Regions from separate parts of the Homo sapiens genome. Here all the other regions are linked to region 2. Evidence: promoter capture Hi-C in 16 types of primary human blood cells and fetal thymus (Javierre and others, 2016). All regions are on one chromosome and are shown on one strand. The core of a region is centred on a gene start or on the middle of the fragment in contact, and the rest is flanking DNA. Distances in the headings are between cores, read along the strand shown.

Evidence for each region. The method cuts DNA at HindIII sites, captures the fragments that hold promoters and counts their contacts. A CHiCAGO score of 5 or more calls a contact.
Region 1: a contact is called between a fragment that was not itself captured here and the fragment with the promoter of H2BC4 in region 2, in 2 of 17 cell types (total CD4 T cells and monocytes). The highest score is 6.0, in total CD4 T cells.
Region 3: a fragment that was not itself captured here is called in contact with the fragment with the promoter of H2BC4 in region 2 in 6 of 17 cell types (total CD4 T cells, non-activated CD4 T cells, total B cells and 3 more); the score reaches 9.4 in total CD4 T cells.

Annotation. Positions count from the first base shown.
Region 1 is chr6:27,136,805-27,139,834 of GRCh38, reverse strand. H4C9 (H4 clustered histone 9) reads right to left here and starts at 553. Exons shown (of 1, transcript NM_003495.3): 1 at 157-553. The coding sequence starts at 526. The coding sequence ends at 215. It also overlaps a transcript of H2BC12 not described here. RefSeq lists enhancers at 1-4, 5-597, 360-739. The HindIII fragment of the contact is 264 bases long and covers 1,197-1,460 here.
Region 2 is chr6:26,122,546-26,125,386 of GRCh38, reverse strand. It overlaps H2BC4 (H2B clustered histone 4), which reads left to right and starts at 1,461. Exons shown (of 1, transcript NM_003526.3): 1 at 1,461-1,920. The coding sequence starts at 1,483. The coding sequence ends at 1,863. H2AC6 (H2A clustered histone 6) reads right to left here and starts at 1,215. Exons shown (of 1, transcript NM_003512.4): 1 at 697-1,215. The coding sequence starts at 1,154. The coding sequence ends at 762. RefSeq lists enhancers at 839-1,048, 1,139-1,278, 613-1,298, 106-1,305, 1,549-2,288 and 4 more and a silencer at 1,312-1,677. The HindIII fragment of the contact is 15,442 bases long and covers 1-2,841 here.
Region 3 is chr6:27,155,202-27,157,965 of GRCh38, reverse strand. No RefSeq gene overlaps it. Among named protein-coding and RNA genes, the nearest start is that of TRH-GTG1-5, 1.5 kb to the left of the region's middle. The HindIII fragment of the contact is 1,152 bases long and covers 775-1,926 here.

The DNA of each region.
Region 1 (3,030 bases), core at 79-2,578, 1.0 Mb before region 2:
GCTCTTCTGGCCTTGGAAAAATCTCGGCCCAAGGTCACCTGTAGTCATCAGCCCATTTTCGGCGTCGAGTTAATCTTGTAAAATAGGATGACAGAACTCACTGACAATGGCCCTATTAAGAGACTCAGTTTGCAGTCATTTCAACTCTTTTGTTGAAAGCTTAGGGGCCCTAAAAAGGGCCTTTTTAGAGAATGACTGGGCTTCAAAATGCCATTTAGCCGCCGAAGCCATAGAGGGTGCGGCCCTGGCGCTTGAGCGCGTAGACCACGTCCATGGCGGTGACCGTCTTGCGCTTGGCGTGCTCCGTGTAGGTCACGGCGTCCCGGATCACGTTCTCCAGGAACACCTTCAACACTCCGCGGGTCTCCTCATAGATGAGGCCAGAAATGCGCTTCACGCCGCCGCGGCGAGCAAGGCGCCGAATGGCTGGCTTGGTGATACCCTGGATGTTGTCGCGCAGCACCTTGCGGTGGCGCTTGGCACCCCCTTTCCCCAGGCCCTTACCTCCTTTGCCGCGTCCTGACATTATCAAGTGGTCAGAGAACAAAGGTCTGCTGCCTGTGATGGCAGCTTTCTTTTATGGGTAACCTCTGCGGACCAGACTGAAAACCGGAAGAGCTTTGGCGGGAAGTCCCTCTGCATTGGGGGAGGGGACCTAAAAGGGAAACAGGCCTGCTGTGCTCTACTCCCTCTTGTTCTCCTTCAGTCCTTTTTAATCCTCAAGACCTAGGCTGTTTTTCCTTTTTTCATTTAACATGATTCCTGCCTCATAACAAAAATGTTAACATTATAGAAGATACATAAAGCAAAAAGAATGTTATCTCTGCATATATGCATGTTTTCCTTTAACATTATTTGTATGGAACTATGCTATTTTGTGGCATTTTTCTCCTTAATATACAATGGAAATATACTCCATATGCTAAATTCCTAGCAATAGAACAAGATAGACTCATAGAATTTAAAGATCGTTCAGGTATATTGCTAAGTTCTTTTCTACTTATTTTCATTTCTAGTGTTTGGGGTGGAGAATTATCCCCCCAAATATCGAGCTTGGTAATGGTGGGTGTTTTTGAAAATTGAGGGTTCTCAGAAACAAGTCTAAGAATCAAGGTCCCTCTAACTTTGTCCTGTTTCTCTTCCCCAAATACAGGGAGGGACTTTCTCTGGAATTTCCTGATATGACCAAGAAAGCTTCTTATCAAAAGAAGCACAATTGCCTTCGGTTACCTCATTATCTACTGCAGAAAAGAAGACGAGAATGCAACCATACCTAGATGGACTTTTCCACAAGCTAAAGCTGGCCTCTTGATCTCATTCAGATTCCAAAGAGAATCATTTACAAGTTAATTTCTGTCTCCTTGGTCCATTCCTTCTCTCTAATAATCATTTACTGTTCCTCAAAGAATTGTCTACATTACCCATCTCCTCTTTTGCCTCTGAGAAAGAGTATATAAGCTTCTGTACCCCACTGGGGGGTTGGGGTAATATTCTGTGGTCCTCAGCCCTGTACCTTAATAAATTTGTATGCCTTTTCTCTTATTAATCTTGTCAGTTGATTTTCAGTGAACTTTCAGAGGCCAAAAGGGAGGTTTTCTCTTGGCCCCTGCACCAGTAGCAGTTCCTGATATGCCTACAACCTTAACTAATGCTGGGTAGAACCATTTAAAGTAATCTAACTTTACTAATAAGGACTTGATTTCTTGTATATAGAAATAACTTTTCAAAAAGTTAATCAGTTGGTTAGTCAGCACAATACATTAACTATTTCCCCCACTGATTTGAGGAACTTATTATCATATACTGAATATATGAGCCACCGCACCCGGCCCATTTGGTGATTTTCTTGCTACTCTTTATTTTAATGAGTACCTTACAGCAGTGCTTGAAGTATTTTCAAAGTATTCCACTTAAATGTCATAAAGTAAATGAAGATAAACTTTTCATTAAAATACTTTAGAAATTTTTGCATTTATGTTGCAATAAAAGAAAACTTGCCATACACCTTTGGAAAACAAAAAAAAATTGATATGACTGGCTGTAACTTGCTGTAGCTGAATTCAGTATATGTTGTAAAGAGGGTAAGGTAGCATAGGTTAATTGAATACGTTAATCTAAGGGTAAATACAAATTAAAAATGAGAGGCTTAATTATCTGTTGAAAACAAAAGACTTCCCTTTCCTTTCCCATCACTTTCAAAATGTCTTTCTCTGTCCTTTTAAAATGTATGTAAATCCTTTTAATGGCTAAATAGGCCTTATAACTCAGAATATTTTCTCAATGCCTGGAGAGCCATCCCTTTGAAATGTTAATCATTAAAAAAGATAGTGGTCTGTCTCCCAGTTTCCAGCGAGAAAATGGGCTGAACTTTAGCTGTCACCTGACTTCGAATTGCAAAACCTATCCAATGTAGCCATACATAATAAGCAAGATTTCTTTCTGCTTTTGCAACCTCTTCATAAGGTTTCCTGTGATAAGCAACTCTCCCTGGTTTAATGCTTATTCAATAATAAAATTATTTCCTTTGTCTTCTTTGGGAGAAGATTTTAAAATTGTATTTCCCCAACATTAGTTAACAAGTATATTTCTCTACTTGAGCTTCTCACTAATCAGAAGCCTTTTTCTGTATCTGATTTCATGAGTTTTCGCATAGCAATTAGTGACAAGGATAGCAATGAATGGTAAAAGGTGGCAGAGCATGCCATCCCAAAATATGCCATTTTGGAATAAGAATTATTCTGAGATACAGGCAATTTTAAAAAGAGTAGGTACAAGAAAGGCACTTTGACCGTTCCCTTTTACCCCCTTAAAAGCAGGAATTAAAATTCCCCTGTGGAAGATGTCCTCCCTGTACCAAAAGGAAAAGAACATTTTCATCAAGGACAGGAAGTTGAAACCAAGAGAATTCTGTCCAAGCAGATCTTAAAATAATTCTTGTTTTCCTTTAGCCTTCCTACATAGTTACATTTCCACAATTTACTCCATTCAACCTACTATAAAAGCATTTAGGTTTTGCTACTTCTTTGGGGT
Region 2 (2,841 bases), core at 212-2,711:
GTCGTGACCTCAGGTGATCAGCCCCCTCGGCCTCCCAAAGTGGTAGGATTAGAGGGGTGAGCAGAAAGCAAAGGTTTTTGAGTGGCCACAGGCCCCACTCTATTTCCTTTTCTGCCTGTAATGGCAACCTAGACGCTTGAGCTTCTTAAAATACAAGAGTAAGTTGCATGTCAGGCACCGTTCTACATTAGGGACATTAGTCTGTTTTACAGACACCTTTCAACTCCCTGGTTAACTTTTAGGTAATATACTCTGCACTTTAGCAGGAATGGGACCTATAACTCTCACAGAATTAGGAAAGTGAGGCTGCCTACAGCCTAAATTGAGAAAAAAATAGACGGGGGACTAGTCGGAGGACCAAACAAGGTTACCAACACGTTAGAGTTTTGCCTTCAATTTACATTTTTAAAGTAATCACAACGAAGTGTTTAGATCACGAGGCATCCCTGCATGTAAACTGTTAGGCACTAACTATGGTCGATCTTACAAAGCATTAACTAGAATATTTCTTTAGAGTATGATAGTACGTAACTGACCTACTATTACATACAAACAGACCAACCTTTAGTAACAGCGCTCCCCAAAAACCGAAAAGCAGTAATACGCTTTGCTCAAGGTTGGCATAAAATTAACTTACCTTAGTGCCTTTTTTCCTTCTACCTACAAGCAGTGAGGTTAGCTCTTCCTTTGAAACGGTAGGGGGGCTCTGAAAAGAGCCTTTGGGTTTGATAGCGTTTCCGGGAGCTCAGATACCTGTCAAATCACTTGCCCTTGGCCTTGTGGTGACTCTCGGTCTTCTTAGGCAGAAGCACGGCCTGGATGTTAGGAAGGACGCCGCCCTGAGCAATGGTCACCCGGCCTAGCAGTTTGTTGAGCTCCTCGTCGTTGCGGATGGCCAGCTGCAAGTGGCGCGGGATGATGCGAGTCTTCTTGTTGTCGCGAGCCGCGTTGCCGGCCAGCTCCAGGATCTCGGCGGTCAGGTACTCTAACACCGCCGCCAGGTACACCGGCGCGCCTGCCCCAACCCGCTCTGCGTAGTTGCCTTTACGGAGCAGGCGGTGCACTCGGCCCACCGGGAACTGGAGACCAGCGCGAGAAGAGCGGGATTTCGCTTTGGCGCGAGCTTTGCCTCCTTGCTTACCACGTCCAGACATTGCAATCAGACAAAAATCACCAAAACCAGCGGCCTAAGCTCACGAGAAAACAAACAAAATCAAGAAATATGTAAAACATGGCCGCTTTTATAGGTAGTTCCTGGGGAGTAAATCCGACTTTTTGATTGGTCGGTAGCAAATGCTAGTCAGATAGCCAATAGAAAAGCTGTACTTTCATACCTCATTTGCATAGCTCTGCCCACGGATGACAACTGTGCAGTTTGTCTTCCAATTAACTAAGAGGTACTCTCCATCCCTCATTAGCATAAAAGCCCTATAAGTAGCAGAAATCCGCTCTTTACTTTCGACACATTTCTGGTGTTTTAAGATGCCTGAGCCAGCCAAGTCTGCTCCCGCCCCGAAGAAGGGCTCCAAGAAGGCAGTGACCAAAGCGCAGAAGAAAGATGGCAAGAAGCGCAAGCGCAGCCGCAAGGAGAGTTACTCTGTGTACGTGTACAAGGTGCTGAAACAGGTCCATCCCGACACTGGCATCTCTTCCAAGGCCATGGGCATCATGAATTCTTTCGTTAACGACATATTTGAGCGCATCGCGGGCGAGGCTTCCCGCCTGGCGCATTACAACAAGCGCTCGACCATCACCTCCAGGGAGATCCAGACGGCCGTGCGCCTGCTGCTTCCCGGAGAGCTGGCCAAGCACGCCGTGTCGGAGGGCACCAAGGCCGTCACCAAGTACACCAGCTCCAAGTAAACATTCCAAGTAAGCGTCTTAACACCTAACCCCAAAGGCTCTTTTAAGAGCCACCCAGATACCCACTAAAAGAGCTGTGGCCAGACGCCAAATTTTATTTGGCGGCGGAGGGGTATTAGAATATAGGAACTGGAGAGGGGTGGGGACAAGTGTTGCAGCTTAGAGAGGGACAAAGGGTCCTGAACCCGAAAGAAGCCAGCCATTAAAAATGGCTTTGGGGTCAATTCGTTGTGCTTAAATTTAAAATGGAGACAAGCGGCCATTTTGCTAACTCGGCGTTCCCGGAAGAAACCGCAGGCTCGCTTAGGTTTCAGACCCAGCTGTCTGTCCCTGTCTACGTCGCCAGGATCAACGGTTGCCGTAATGTCATAATTTCGCCACCAGCTTCTAGCCAATAGGCTGTCCTGTCATTTTAAATATTAACCAATCGAGGGAAAGCTGTTTTGAGACTCTGATTTACATAGCGGACCGGAGTGGGAACCTGGGCAGTAACTGCCTAAGGAAGGACTCCCCCTCTGTTTTCGTGGCGCACACCTTCGTAGTATACTGAAGGGTGTGTCTCCTGGGTTTCCAACTGCCCCGGTAATAGTCTTTTAACCTAATATGCGTCAGTTTTGATAACAACACTAAGGCAGTACAGAACTAAAGATGTAAGCACTGCGCCAGATGTTGCTTCATACATCTTATTCTATTCAACTGGTTTATTCAAGATTCAAATCAAATCAAATTTTGCTTGAATCCCAGTGCTCAGTCAGCCATAAATGGTGTGTTGCCTGATTGAAACTTAAAATCTCCGTAGGGGGCTTGTAACATGCAGACAAGTTTGAAAGTTGCTTTAGGAGAAGCCAACTCTTAACTGCTGGGTAAATTGACAAGCCTTCGAACACTGAACTGAAGGCCAGTAAGGACTAGGCGCTGGGTGGGGGAGAATGAAGAGGAGACGTCATTAAACTTAGCACATACACTGTATCTCCTAGA
Region 3 (2,764 bases), core at 101-2,600, 1.0 Mb before region 2:
AAAGAAGCCAAAGGTAACACATTAAGTTTCATTATATGGAATTTTCCCAGCGTGGTGGTTGTTTTTGGGGGTTGGTAATACTGTGCTTGTAAACTCATTATTCTCACTTCTATCTCCAACCCACGCATGTTTCTTGCTCAGTTTAGCAGTGTGGTCCTCAGATCTTTGGCAACAAAAGGAAGAGGGCGCTGCTTTGAAGTGGACCTGCCAGATCCCATTTTTTGCCAAACTAGTCAGAATCTTCGGGGGCTTGGCATGGAATCTGGCATCTCGACAGGTGCCAGAAGTGAGTTTCTCATCACGAGGAACTATGTGGCTTCGTCCTGACCCAGGTACCTATGAGAAGCCAGTGAGGCGCTCGCGCACTCAGCCTGCCCACCTGAGCCGTCAGGAAATGTCCGGCGGCGCTCGCACCTCAGAGTGAAATTTCTTTCTCCCTTTCATACCTAGTTTGCCAGAAGAGGGAGATAAAAGTGCCTCTCCTGTGGCTCCAAAGCTCCGTGGGACTTCCCTCCTGCCCCGCTTGCTGTTTTAGGAACGTAGCCTCTAGAGTCAAGGTCCTGGTCGTGTTTTCCCCTTGATACCAAATGATTTTCTTTCTGTAAAATCATTCTGGTCTTAAACTCCTGAACTCAACTGATCCGCCCCTCTCGGCTTCCCAAAGCGCTAGGATTACAGGAGTGAGCCACCGCGCCCGGCCTCTTCTCTTTACCTGGTTAAATTTGTTTAATGCTTCAGCTTCAACTCAAGAAAGCTTTTCAAATCAAGGAAGCTTTTCTTGACCTCCCGTCTCCACGCAACACATGGTTCCTTGGTTTTTTTTTTTTCCTTCCCTCCCTTCTTTCCCTCCTTCCTTCCTTCCTCTCTCCCTCCCTCCTTCCCTCTCTCTTTCTTTTCTTTTCTTCTTTCCTTCCTTCTTTCTTTCTCTCTCTCTCATTCTCTTTCTTCCTTCCTTCCTTTTCTTTCTTTCTTTCTCTTTCTTCTTCTTTTTTTTTTTCTCAGAGTCTCGCTCTGTTGCCCAGGCTGGAGGGCAATGACACAATCTCGACTCATTGCAACCTCCACCTCCCGGGTTCAAGCGATTCTCCTGCCTCAGCCTCCCGAGTAGCTGGGATTACAGGCGTAAGCTACTACGCAGGGCTAATTTTTGTATTTTTATTAGAGAGGGGGTTTCACCATGTTGGCCAGGCTGATCTATAACTCCTGACTTCAAGTGATCCACCCGCCTCGGGCTCCCAAAGTGCTGGGATTACAGGCGTGAGCCATCATGCCCGGCCACTTGATTCTTTTTCACTTTTCCTTTAGTGCTCTTATATCAGTTTGTAATGTATAATACCAGAGTTATTTGATTAATGTCAGCCTCCATCCTCCCGCTCCATATGCCCCAAGACGAGGAATATCTATTTTGTTCAATAATCTATCACTAGGGCTCCCCATTTGGTAGGTTCTTTATCAATATAGTTTGGCTGCAGAATGAATGAATGGGTGGGCAGAGACTACCATCCAAAGCTCTATGAAAGCAACTTCTCCCAGCAGCATCTGGCCTAGTTCAGCAGGCTTGCCTTTTGACCTTTGATGGGAAAAGATTGGTAATAATTTAAAGAAAGGTTGGGAGGTCAAGACAGGAGTATTGCTTGAGGCCATGAATTTGAATCAAGTTTGGGCAACATAGTGAGACCCTGTCTCTACAAAAAAAATAAAAAAATTTAACCAGGCACAGAGGTGCATGCCTGTAGTCCCCATTACAAGGGAGGCTGAGGCAGGAGGATCACTTGAATCCAGGAGTTTGAGGTTGCAGTGAGCTATGATTGTGCCTCTGCACTGCAGCCTGGGCTACAGAGCAAGATCCTCCCTCTAAAATAATAATAATAAATTTAAAAATGAAGGGAGTTCAAAATTACCCCTGCAGCTATCCATAATAAAGCTTCTCAGCAGAGCCAAAATAATGTGCTTAATTTCCTAAAATTTTCTTTATCTCCTTTCCTCTGTCTGGATTACACAAAAGTATTCTAATTACTAATAGGTTTACTGAATGAAGAATTACCTGTTTCCTAGCATCATTGTTATTATTATTATTATTATTATTATTATTATTATTATTTTATTTTATTTTATTTTTTGAGATGGAGTCTCGCTCTGTCGCCCAGGCTGGAGGGCAGTGGTGCGATCTTGGCTCACTGCAACCTCCGCCTCCTGGGTTCAAGTGATTCTCCTGCCTCAGCCTCTTGAGCAGCTGGGACTACAGGCGCGTGACACCACGACTGGCTAATTTTTTGTATTTTTAGTAGAGACGGGTTTTCACTGTTTCAGACAGGATGATCTCGATCTCCTGACCTTATGATCCGCCCACCTCCGCCACCCAAAGTGCTGGGATTACAGGCATGAGCCACCGCACCCAGCCCTAACATTAATTTGTTTGATCAGGGAAGTGACCTAAGGGCTTTCTCAGTCTCAAAGACATGAGCTCCATCAAAGAAAATGCAGCCAGTAAGAAGGAAATGCAAGCTGCCTCTGTCTCAAGTCTCTTTGAGTTAGATCTTTCCTTTTCCTTTGCTTAGGGCCTTCCCCAACCCCATTTAGAAAGCTGCTGTGAATGAAAGTGCTTTTCAGCATTTTCTGCTGGGATGTTTTTGGAAATTGGGTTGATCTGCATGTGCTTCTCCATAAAAAGAGGGAAAAGCTGTATCTTTGATGTCATAGGCCTAGAAAAAGGCCTCTTTCCTTGTGCTTATTTTGGAAGGCCATTTTGAAGATTTCATCTGAC